Regions from separate parts of the Homo sapiens genome. Here region 1 is linked to region 2. Evidence: promoter capture Hi-C in 16 types of primary human blood cells and fetal thymus (Javierre and others, 2016). All regions are on one chromosome and are shown on one strand. Each heading gives the region's core, a stretch centred on a gene start or on the middle of the fragment in contact. The rest is flanking DNA. Distances are from core to core; before and after follow the strand shown. Region 1 holds the start of DUSP9 (dual specificity phosphatase 9). Region 2 holds the start of ATP2B3 (ATPase plasma membrane Ca2+ transporting 3).

What was found. The method cuts DNA at HindIII sites, captures the fragments that hold promoters and counts their contacts. A CHiCAGO score of 5 or more calls a contact.
Region 1: the fragment with the promoter of DUSP9 here is called in contact with the fragment with the promoter of ATP2B3 in region 2 in 5 of 17 cell types (M1 macrophages, erythroblasts, M0 macrophages and 2 more); the score reaches 6.9 in M1 macrophages.

What each region holds. Positions count from the first base shown.
Region 1 is chrX:153,644,035-153,649,770 of GRCh38, forward strand. It overlaps DUSP9 (dual specificity phosphatase 9), which reads left to right and starts at 3,169. Exons shown (of 4, transcript NM_001318503.2): 1 at 3,169-3,391; 2 at 3,885-4,292; 3 at 5,198-5,653. The coding sequence starts at 3,920. The HindIII fragment of the contact is 18,543 bases long and covers 1-5,736 here.
Region 2 is chrX:153,515,060-153,521,266 of GRCh38, forward strand. ATP2B3 (ATPase plasma membrane Ca2+ transporting 3) reads left to right here and starts at 2,583. Exons shown (of 22, transcript NM_001001344.3): 1 at 2,583-2,816; 2 at 3,373-3,492. The HindIII fragment of the contact is 7,787 bases long and covers 1,472-6,207 here.

The sequences.
Region 1 (5,736 bases), core at 1,919-4,418, 130 kb after region 2:
GGATTTGGCAGGCACGCTGTCGCCGGGACTTGTGCTCTTGGCCATGTGACCCGGCCGCGACAGCCGAAATCCTGTCACTCGGCCCGGCGGGAACGGTGCATCTCGTGGGGGAAGGCGGCGCGGCGCCGCTCTCGGGAGGCTCCCGGGACCAGAGGGCGCACGCGGCGCGCGCGAGGCCTGCAGGCGGCGGCGTCCCCGCGGCCTCCAGGGGGCGCTGGCCCGGCCCGGCGGAGGCCCGGGGCGCCCGGCGGGGGCGGGTGCGGGGGCGGGGGCGGGGGCGGCAGGCGCAGCGCCCACCCTGCGGCGGGCAGCGAGCGCGCGGCCTGGCTCAGCCCGCCGGAGGGGGCCAGACGAGGCCCGGGCGCGCGGCGCGGCCTCCCCCAGCACAGCGCACCCGGGAGCGGCTGCCGGCGGGGCGGCGCCCAGAGCCGGCGCTACAGGGGGCCTGAGTGGGGGCGGCCCGGCGAGGGTCGCGGGTGAGAGGGGGATTAGGGGGTTGGCTGCGCTCAGCCCTGCAGTGCGGAGGTGGCAACAGGTTCCCATTTGTCCTGTTGCTGGCGCTGCGGGCGCTGTGGGCCCCGAGCACTGAGCTCTGACTTTGGAAATTGAGCCCCTCATGGCCTCCTCCCAAATGCTTTCTCCCGGTGCGAGGACTTGGCAGCAGGGCTCCGCAGTTAGGTGCAGGGGAGCCCCTCGCCAAGCGTCGGGAGACGTGGACCCTTGGATCCTAGGCTTCCCCTCCCTTCCCCATTGCGGAGGTTGCCTCTCCCCGTCCTCATTCCAGCCCAGCTCCTCTCACCTCCAGGGAACCCTCTCCAGAGAGCGCCACTGAGCAGCTCAGGAGCTCCCTCTCTAGCCGAACTGAGCCCCCACGGCAGGGCGGGCCGGGGAAGTGGCTGTCCAGCTCCCTGCTGGTCACAGCCCTGCGCCACCCCCACTCTCCACAACAAGACTGGCACATGGCAGAACCTCCGTGGTGCCTTCAACCCCTGCCCACTCTGAGCTCCCACCCACAGCTGCAGTGGGCCTGGAGGCAGCCCCCAGGCTGGGTGCCGGTGTCCACCTCCACCACTGTGGAGCTAGGCTGTGGACAGAAAACAGAAGACAAAGTCCCTGCCCCAGGAACACACTGAGAAAGGGGGAAAGTGACCACACTAGGGAGCACAGAGGAGGGAGACTACTGGCTCCGAGTTGGGAAGGCTGCCTGGAGGAGGGGGCCTGAAGAATGAGCAGAATCTCAGAATCTGGGCAGGGGGCATAGGAGGGAGGCCTGGGCTGGGGCCCTTGCCCACTGGGTGAGAGAAGGAAGGGCACAGTCCAGCTGCCCAAAGCCCTTGGATGCAGGAATTAGGACTCTTGTTAGACGCAGGGACATGGGGGGTGTGGCCGGAAAGCAGCCCAGTGCCAGGGTCCTGGGAGTCCCCGGCTAGCAGCCCACTGCCCGAAAGGGAGGGAGAGAGGCAAACTGGAAGCCCCTTAGAGGTGACCCACCTAGCTTTCCGTCACCTGCCCTCTTACCTAACCATGACCTGAGACATTTTCTCCTCTAACTCCATGGCTCCTGAGAGGAGTCTTTAGACTCGTAGTTTGCTTTGCATTTTCCACTTGTTAGAAAAATGCTTTGTGGTGCCCATCCTCGTGTGCATAACTTTGCTTTCTTTTACTTTAGTTCCTTAGATTCCCAAAAGTGGTCAAAGGGTTGGGATTTTTTCCTAGCTCTTGATATTGCCAGATTAATTTCCAAAGGGGCCGTACCAATATATAACCCTGCAACAGTTGAACAGCACGCTGATTTCACAGCAATCTTGCCAGCACTGCGTGTTCTCAAAAATGAGAACATTTCTAATGCAGTAGGTGGGAAGTGTTACCTCGTTGGTCATTGTTACTTGTTTATTGGAGTGGCTTTCCTTCCACGCCTGAAGTTGAACCTTCCCCCAAATATTTGTTAGGCCACCGCATTCCCTCCTTCCTGCAGTATGCAGTGTTTTCAGGTTCTTTGCCCATTTATCTACAGGGGTCTTAACCTTTTAGTTGGGTATGAGCTTTATCTTATCTGGCGTACATTTTCCTTCAACACTGTTATTTGCTTTTGTTGAGCTTTAAGCAGAGAAGGGACTTTTAGCCAGATCAGCATTGTGGACACCTCCCCCTGACCCTGGTCTCCTGCCTCAGTGCTCACCACACCTGAGACCTTGTCCAGTGCTCTTGCTGCCTGTGGATCTGTCCCGCCTGTTGTGCCCATGGAGGAAAGGATGGAGGCCACCAGCCTTGGTTGAGTGGATGGCATTCTGACGTTGGGCAGGGCTGGGCAGGGCAGGGTGGAGGGCAGGTCGTTGCAGGCCCGGAGGCAGGGAGACTGTTGTGCAAGACGTGACAGTGACCTGGCCTAAAGCTGATGAATTTGAGCCCTCGGCTAGGGCAAGGGACAGGGGAGAGAGGCGTGGATGTGAGAGATATTTAGGTAGAAACTAGTTCTTTCCACTTTGATTAGCCGAAGGGGGGTTAAGGGAAGGAGGCAGAGGGGGGAGCCACGGGTGACTCTTAGGATCAGTAATGTGATAAGAGCAGAGTGCCCCAGTTTAGGGCTGGGAGCTCAGGGTTCCTGGGTGCTTTTGGCCAGTCCTGTGCGAGTGAAGCGGGCTGGTATTGGTAGGTATCCAGGAGCTACCCCTGCCTGCCTAGCCCTGCAGCAGACCTCTGGGCCAAAGCTGCACTAAGTTTCTGGTCCTGCCTCCTCCTCCCCTCCGTGATTTCGGTGGCATCCCAAGTTTGCCCAAGCTGCTAGCTCTGAGCCCATTACAGAGATGGGGCCACTGAGATCCAGGCAGGGGAGAAGATGCTCCAGTATCACCCTGTGAGTTGGGCTGGAGGCAGCTTCTGCGGCAGAGGGGCTGGGCTCTGGTCCTCACCCCTCCCCCTGCCTCCCGAGGCCAGGCTGGCGCCGGCCAGGGGAGCCGCAGCTGGTCCCCTGCTGGGCCCCTGACCTGCCCTTGGCCTCTGCCCCGACCCCGTCCCGCCTCGGTGGAAGCCCCAGCTCAGCCGACTCGCAGGTCCCACCCGACTGCTTCGGCTAGCACCCGTTGGCTCACCGGCCCGCCGGGCCCGCCCCCGGAGCCCCGCCCCGGCCCGCCCCTCGGAGTTGTAACTCCACGTCCGAAGGCAGTTTCCAAGGTGGAAGCTGGGTCCGGCTGCCAGGAAGCGGCCGGTGCGCGGGCTGCGCGGGCTGCGCGGGGCTCGGCTTCCACGTGCGAGCCTGCACCGCCGCCCCGCCCTCTCCTGGCGGCCAGGCCTGGGGACTCTCTGCCGCGGGACGGCGCCTCGCGTTCCGCCGTGGCAGTGGCCGTGGCCAGAACGTCCACGCGCGGTCGTCCACCGCCGGATCTCGCTCCAGGTCTCTTTCCTTTTGTTCTCTCCTAGGGGTAGGGGGAGATGGGGGACCGGGGGCCAGACCACCTCTGAGAGGACTCGCTGAGGCCCAGCACCTCGGCGCCTCCTCTGTTCCCCTGGCCCACCTGGCCCTGGGGGAGATCTAGGCCTCGAACGGCACTCCTCGCACGCACACCCCCAGCCAGAGTCGGAAGCTCGAACTTGGGGAGCGTTCGCGAGAAGACCGAGACAGGAGCAGAAAGGGGGTATGGAGGGAGGCGGCTGCGACCTCAGGGTACCCCAAGATGAGCCTCGAAGGGGCGGTTAGCCGCTCAGCCCTCTTCTCGAGGACCCTTCCCCGGGCCGAGCTGCTGCCTGGGGGGTTTCTTGGGGCGCCTTGTTGGGAGTCCTCATGGTGGGGGACCCTGGGCTCCCGCCTTCAGGACGCGGGGCCGGCTTCAAGTCTGAGCCCCCTCGGCCCTCCGGTAGCTCACACCGCGCCTTCTCTCTCTTCGCAGCGCCCGTGGTCCAGCGTGTAGGGAGCCGATCGCCCATGGAGGGTCTGGGCCGCTCGTGCCTGTGGCTGCGTCGGGAGCTGTCGCCCCCGCGGCCGCGGCTCCTGCTCCTGGACTGCCGCAGCCGCGAGCTGTACGAGTCGGCGCGCATCGGTGGGGCGCTGAGCGTGGCCCTGCCGGCGCTCCTGCTGCGCCGCCTGCGGAGGGGCAGCCTGTCGGTGCGCGCGCTCCTGCCTGGGCCGCCGCTGCAGCCGCCCCCGCCTGCCCCCGTGCTCCTGTACGACCAGGGCGGGGGCCGGCGCCGGCGCGGGGAGGCCGAGGCCGAGGCCGAGGAGTGGGAGGCCGAGTCGGTGCTGGGCACCCTGCTGCAGAAGCTGCGAGAGGAAGGCTACCTGGCCTACTACCTCCAGGGTAGGTGCCGCGGGGCCCTCCTTCCAGGGGGTTCGGGATTCATTTGACCTTAGGCCAGCCCCACTTCTTTTTTTCTAAAGCGAGTTGAGGCCCCCCTCCCCTGATGACCTGCCAGGCTGCTTTGAGAGGAGGGAAGCCTGAGTGTGACCGTGGGGAAGTTCTTCACCCTCGGCAGCCCAGTCTCTGAGCCTGGAAAATGGGGAGAATTAGCCTGACCTGAGCTAGTTCTCAGGATGCTCAAGAACGAATTACAAAGTGCGGGCTCCCCAGGGTCTCGGCAAGGGTATCCCCACCTCCCCAACCTGCTCAGGAATGAGCAAGGGAGGCAGGGGTCAGACAGCACTGGTGCAATCACGGCTCACTGAAGCCTCCTGGGCTCAAGCGATCCTCCTGCCTTAGCCTCCCGAACAGCATATAAAGTGTCAGGTGTCCAGCCCGGGGAAATAGTATCTGTAAATAGAGATGCTGGCTTCTTGAGCCATATTCTCCCCCAAGTTCCCCCACATCTTGGGGTCCCACTTCATCCCTGAGAGTCAGGAGATGCCCAGGCAGAGAGCTGACATCTGAGTTCCTCCTTTTCTTTAGCTGATGGCCGCAGTCCTCCCTAAGGCTGGCAGTGCATCTCGGCTCTGTTGAGCCCTCACACCTGCCTCAGCTTGACCCTAGGGGTGTAAGATCCTTTCCGGTGGCTCAGCGTGAGCCCAGCTTCTTGCAGCCCGAGCTGACTGAGGGTGGCTAGGGCCCCACGTGGGTACCAGGACACACCAAGCTGCTGGGTTTTGTGTTCCCTTTGGGAACATTTGCAAACCCTCCAAGTTGTCCAGGGTCATCTCCCCAGCCCCAGACAGAGGCACTTGGCTGCCCAGAAGGCCAGGTCAGCAGGCCCCATGCCCTCTCCCCAACAGGAGGCTTCAGCAGATTCCAGGCCGAGTGCCCTCACCTGTGTGAGACCAGCCTTGCTGGCCGTGCCGGCTCCAGCATGGCGCCGGTGCCCGGTCCAGTGCCCGTGGTGGGGTTGGGCAGCCTGTGCCTGGGCTCCGACTGCTCTGATGCGGAATCCGAGGCTGACCGCGACTCCATGAGCTGTGGCCTGGATTCGGAGGGTGCCACACCCCCACCAGTGGGGCTGCGGGCATCCTTCCCTGTCCAGATCCTGCCCAACCTCTATCTGGGCAGTGCCCGGGATTCCGCCAATTTGGAGAGCCTGGCCAAACTGGGCATCCGCTACATCCTCAATGTCACCCCCAACCTCCCAAACTTCTTCGAGAAGAATGGTGACTTTCACTACAAGCAGATCCCCATCTCCGACCACTGGAGCCAGAACCTGTCGCGGTTCTTTCCGGAGGCCATTGAGTTCATTGGTGAGTCCACCCCACCCACCCTTCCCTCCTGTCCTCCCCAAGGCCTGCTCTGGCCTCCCCCTTGTGAGTACTCCTCCCAAGCC
Region 2 (6,207 bases), core at 1,333-3,832:
GGTGGGGCAGGTAGCCCCTGCCTCAGATTTTCTCCCCTGAACTTGCTTCTTCCCCCTGGCCAGACAGGGCCTGTGCAGAGTCTGGGGTCAGAGAATAGGGAGGGGAGATGCATAAACACGCAACCCAGGCAGCAGCTGCTCCAAGCTCAGGGAGATTCCCCCATGTGGATAGCAGCCATCAGTTAAATGAACAGCCTCCATCCCTCAGCATGTTCCCTGGTCCCCGAGGGAAGACAGTGACGCAGCCCAAAGGGACTCTTCTCTTTGCTTGTCAGCTCTCACAGCCACTCCTAAGCCTTTAAGTGTGGGTCTCCCCAGCCCCACACCTGCCCTCCCAGAGCTGCCCACACATGTCTGCTAAGAGGTGCTTGTCTTCAGCCGGGACCCAACCCTTGCCCAAGGGATGCTCCTGCTGGGGGCCACGAAAGGAGGCCAGCTCAGCAGCCTGCTTCTGCCTTTGCTCACTCCAGAGCAGGGCCCTTGGGCCTGGGATGGAAGGACATGACCCCAGGGAGCCTGCCACAGTGTGGGAGGCCAAGAAGGAACGTGGCCTGAATGCGCTGGGGAAAGGAGCTCCTCTGCCCTCCTGTGGTGCCTGAGGGCATGGGGGCAGCTGGCCTCCCGGCCAGGGGCCAAAGTCCAGCTTACAACCTGCTCCGGGTGGGATCCAGTGCCCTCTGGGCCTCCACTTCCCCATCTGGAATGTGGGCTAGTAAGAGGAACGACTCCAAGATGGCAGGGCTCTGGCGAAATGGCCAGAACTTAGCTCATGATAAGTTTCCAGCATCATTGGGGCTTGCTTCAGTCTTGATTTTTCCCATTCGGGGCCATGGGAAGTCACAGGCTGTGTGTGTGTGAGAAGGGGGTGTCCCCATGGCGGCTCTGGGCCCGGAGGAGCACACGCCCCAGGCTCAGGAAAAGCTGCCTCAGAGTTGGAGTGGAAGGGGACTGCGGGAGTGTGCAAATGAATATGTGTGAGAGTGTGAGTGGGGAGTGTGTGTGTGAGTGTGACTGTGAGTAACTGTGTGTGAGTGTGTGTGTATGTATGTGCCCATGTGTGTGCTCACTGGGTAAGTGTGTGAGTTGTGTAGGTGTGAGAGCATGTAAATATGTGTGAACCATTGTGTAACTGTGTGGGCCACCGAGCTTGTGTGGGTGAGGGTGAGTGAGCACATATGACTGTGAGGATGTGTCTGCGTGAGATTGTGAGTGTGTGCATGAGTGTGTGAGTGTGTGTTTGTGTAAGTAGGTGAGTGAGCATGAGTTCATGCATATGAGCAGGTGTGAGTATGTGTGCGTGCATGTGAGTGGGTGTGAGTAAGCATGTGTGAGCGCACACATGACCAGGTGTATGAGTGTGTGTGTGCGTGCGTGCGCGAACCTCAGCTTTCCACGGCACCAGCTGCTTCCTGTGGAAGGGAGGGGCAGTCTGTGGGGGTTGTGACGGTTCCCTGGTCTCAGGGGCAGCAGAAGCTTTCTGTCCTTTTGGTCCCTAGCACAGTGGTGCCTCCTCAAAGAGGCCTTCCCTGAGCCGCCAGCAGCCTCTTTCATGGCTCCCCATCAATGGGGTTCCATAGCTCCGACCCCAGCGGCGTGAGCACATTTGCCATCCGACGGCCACTCCCTGCTTTGTGGTCCCTGCTGTGTCCCCAGTATTCAGCTCTGGTCTGGCACACAGCATGTCCAGGGCCCTCTTTGTCCAAGGCAAGAAAGAATTTGAGGCTGCGTCCAGGCCTCTTGCACCTGCCTCAGGCTCCCGCCCAGAGCCTCTACCTGTGCCCCAGCGAGCATTCTCTGCTCGCTGCTCAGAATGCTCGCAAAGGCCGGCCCTGGGGTCAGAGGCCTCCACAGCCCCTGGAGCTGGGAAGCCTGGGGGTCCACCGGCAGGCACGGGGGTCTCTTTCCAGGTAGGTGGGAACGCGTGCTTGTGGGTGTGGACAGGTGTCTGCACTGGGGTTTGTCTGTGTGTCTGTCTCCACTCACACCGGGGATGTATGTGCCCCTGCGTGTCTGTCTCTGGTGCCCACCTGTGTGCAGTCTCTGTGTTCTGCCTAACGGTGGTGTTCCCGTGATAACCGACGGTGAGGATCTCCGGTAAGCGCCGCTTCCTCTGGGAAGACGCATTTGGACGCCCGTACTCTCAACAGGTAATGGAGTTTGCAGGAGACCACCAATGCCTTGGAGTCCACTGAGGCAAGACCCAAGGACCCCACGCTACACATCAGCCACCCGGCTCTGTGCCCCATTTTACTGTTGGGGAGACGCACCTAGAGGGCAGGGTCTGGAGAGGTAGTGGCAGCCTCAGTCGCAAGCTCAGGGTGCTCTCTCTGCACTCACAGGTGCCATGGTCCCCCAGTTTCCATCCCCACCCACCCCCACTCGGCCAGTGCCCTTTGGGGGCAATGCCAGGCCAGGAAGGGCGGGCACCCTCGCGCGTCCTGGGGACAGAAGGGCGCGCACCGGGCGCGTAGCTCCTGAGCCCCGAGGCCCCTGCGCCGCGCACCGCCCCCCGCGCCCGCTCCCTCCTCCCTCCCTCCTCCTCACCCAGCTCCCTCCCCTCCCCCCTCCCTCCCTCCGCGCTCAGAGCTGCGGTTGGAGCCGAGCGCGCCGCGTCGCCCGCCGCCGGTGCAGAGCGTGGGGAGCACTCGGCCGCAGCCCTCGCCCGCCGCAGAGGGTCGCGTCCCGCGCCGCCGGCCAGGCCGCCCCGTGCCCAGGCCTTTCCATCCTTGGAGCGGATCGTTGCCCGCCTGACGCCCGCCCGCAGCGACAGCGCCCGCCGGAGCCGAGGCCGCGGCGGCGGCCGTGCCCATGCCCGGGTAAGTGGTGCTCTGGGCGCGCGGGCGCCGCCGGGGTGGGCGCGGGCGCGGCGCGGGCACAAGGCGCGGGTGGGGATGGGAGGATGACCCGGCAGGTGGTGCGGCGGCAGGTAGGGGGACACGGGTCCCCGCCCGAGGCACCTGAGCCCCGCGCCGGGCCTGCGTGTCCTTGCGGCACTGCGGCCGCGCGTCACCCCGGGGCCCCAGGCCGGCGGGCAGCGCCCCGCACCCTGCACCCTGCGCCCCGCATCGCGCGCGCACGCGCATCCGTGTCTGAGGAACAAGGCCCTTGGGGGCTGCGGGCCGGGGCTCAGGGTGGGCGCAGCCGGGGGCGCGGGATCTGGGCCGGGAGCCCGCCAGTGCGCACGCACCTTCCCGGAGCCTCGGGCACCCCCTCCCCCCCGCGCCCTCACACTGTATCATCCTTCCCCTCTCGCCTTCCCGCACCGTTCCCCGCACGCCCACGCGGCTGCCCAGCAGACCCCACCGCGGTCATGGGCAGTGCCCACGAGAAGCCGCCCGGGGCCGCACTTAGGTAACTTCTCCATCCCTCCAGGAACGGCTGTCTCCCCCTCCTCGCCTGTGTGACCTTGGCCAGCCAGCTTTTCCTGTGGCCGCCTGCGTTTTCTCACGGGTGAAAGCTCTGGCTTTAAGATTCTGGAATTTGGAATGGCAGGTGCGGCATCTCCCAGAGCCTGAGACGATGGGCTTCTCTCTCTGTGACCTGGTGTCCTTCCTTCTGCTGGCCCTTCTGGGGGTTGGTGGCTCAGCCAGCCGGCTGAGGAGGGGTGGGAGGCAGGGCAGGGGCATGGCGCCGGGGCAGGTCAGGACTGGAGGGAGTCTTGGAGAGCCCGCGGTGAGGGCTCCATGAGGGTTTAGGAGAGACTGTGGAAATGCTCCTTCGCTCACTCAAGGGGCAGGGAAGGGACCAGAATTCCTCAACGAGATGCTTGCCATTTCCTGGCGAGGTCATATAACTTTCAAAGATGAAGCCCAGGGCCTCCGACCTCAAAGGAGTCCCTGCCTGCTAAAGGATCAAGTCCAGCCTGTCCCCAACTGGCCCCCATCCTGAATTCCACTGGCACCCTAAACGTCAGCCGACTTCCCCTGGCTGACTTGGGCACCAGTCTGGCAGGCACCCCCTGCACCTCCTCCCCTCCTTTGCCCACTAGGATCTGTGCCCTCACCCCCTGCCATTGCCCCTCACTAGTCAGTGACCATCTTAAGGCAAGGACTGGCTCTTCATTTGCACAGGCCTGGCACAGAGTGGGCACCTGGTTTCTGCATGGCATATTCATGACCTTGACCTCACTGAATCTGCAGACTCACTGAACAGGAGAGGCAAGGCCTGGATTTTTGTCCCCATTTTTCAGATGGGATCATTGAGGCCCCCAAGAGGAGAAGGGATTCAGCCCTGAATTGAGGCCCCTTCCTTCATGAGCAGATGGCTAGGGACATTCCTATGAACCTGGTGGGGCAGGGAGGCGGGGAGAGGTTATCGTAATAATCAAAGACCAGCCCCACTTCCTGAGCTCCATCTGAGTCTCACCTCAACCACACGAGTGAATGGCTGTTTTCATCCCCAACCCCCACCCCCCGCCGCCACTTTTCACAGATGAGGAAACCGAAGCCATGTGGCTCATTAAAGGGGCACTGGGATGCCGAGGAGAGGGCTGGGGATGCCTGGGCCCCTGTGGGACACAGCTGAGACCCAGCAGAGGGTCCCAGGGTGAGGTCAGCCCCTCAAGTCTGCGCCATCGGAACGGGCTGGGAACTTGTGGTCCCCGGCCATTGATTGTCACTGCTGCAGGCCCCGAGGCGGGGGACAGCCAAGGACACAGCCAGTCTCCATCAGCTCCACCTGGGCCGTGCCCTGCACGGCCAGGTGGTTTGAGTGCAGGAGTAGGCATGCTCTCACACAGCAGGGGGTAACGGGCAGATGGAAGTGGGGCGGGCGTGGGAGGGGGCCTTGCACAGGGCCAGAAGGAGAGCCGGTCCCTGAGGAAGGAAGCCCCTAAGGCAAAGAGCATGCCAGGGGACAGCCACAATGCCAGGTGATGGAGATGCCCCAATCGGCCCCCGAGGGGCAAGGAAGGGGCCAGAGGAGGCTCGTGAGGGTGCCTGGGGCTTCAGTGACAGCAGCCCCTTACCTGATGGTCTTTGTGACCTTGGCCAAGTCCCTTCTCCATTCCAGATCCAGGGAGGGTGGGGGTGGGCCTGGGGGAGCTGGAGCTTCAGAGGTTGAATCATTCACTAGCAGGAGAAGCCAAGCCTGTGAGTCAGTGAGTGCTCTCCATCCCAGAACGTCTGCTCCCAGCCCAGGGATGCAGCCACGGAGTGCCGGGGTCAGCCGTGGAGGACCCTCTGAGAATGTCTTGTGGAAAGGGGCGCCTTGCCTGCCCGGTAGACAGGATGAGGGCGCCCCAGAGCCCCAGGGGCTTCTGAGAGCTGAGTACCCTCTGGGCCTCTTGCAGCCAGCAGAGCCAGGCAGAGCTTCTTCTGGCCTTTTCACCTCCTCCCCCACCTCACAGAGCAAGTCATCAGCACATATGAACTCCCCTCTGATTTTAAACTGATGGCTTGTGTATTTCACCAATGGCCACTGTCTCCATCAGTGGTCAGTAGCACATCAAGTAATGTCAACAATGATAATAGTTATAATGGCAGTCACTTTATGTCAGACACTGAGTGCTGCACAGACATTTCCTTGCCCACTTAATTGAAACAACAACAAATGATTGCAAGTGCTGTTATCCCCATTTTGCATTGCGGCTGAGGCCCAGAGAGGCTAGGTAACTTGCCCAAGGTCACACAGCCAGTAGGTAGCAAATCCAGGGCTGGAATGTAGTCCATCAGGCTCCGGAGTCTGGTCTGTGCTTGTAGCCATTAGTTCCTGTATCTCCAGAAGTGTGTGCGGAAGTCAGCAGAGTAGAGTGTGGTTCGTGTGAACTCACTGTCTCGGGTACTCCCAGCCTTGTGGGCTGAAGCCGGGGATTCTTGGGAAGACCTTGCAGCTCAGAAGCTGAGCCACCTGCACCTCTGCCCCGTCTACCCACTGAGAGAAATGGACAACAGGTGGATTTATATCAGTCTCCAGCAACTCAGGGACCGGTTTAGCTCTGCATTCATGGCCCCTTCAGGGCACCCGGAAGCACTGGCAGTGCACGTAAATGGCAGCTGATAGATGGGGACCTGTGCCATGGTACTGAAGGCAAACACTTCCCTCTAAGCCTCTTGCTGTGACTTTGCAGCAAGCTCCCCAGCAACGCCCCGGGCTGGGTATGCCAGGCAGAGACCTGGAGCATGCACAGGGCTCCTCCCTTCCCCACCCTGGCTAAGCTGGCAGAAGCCAGGCCAAGCAGCGCCTGGCTGGAAAGCCCTCCCCTGCCTG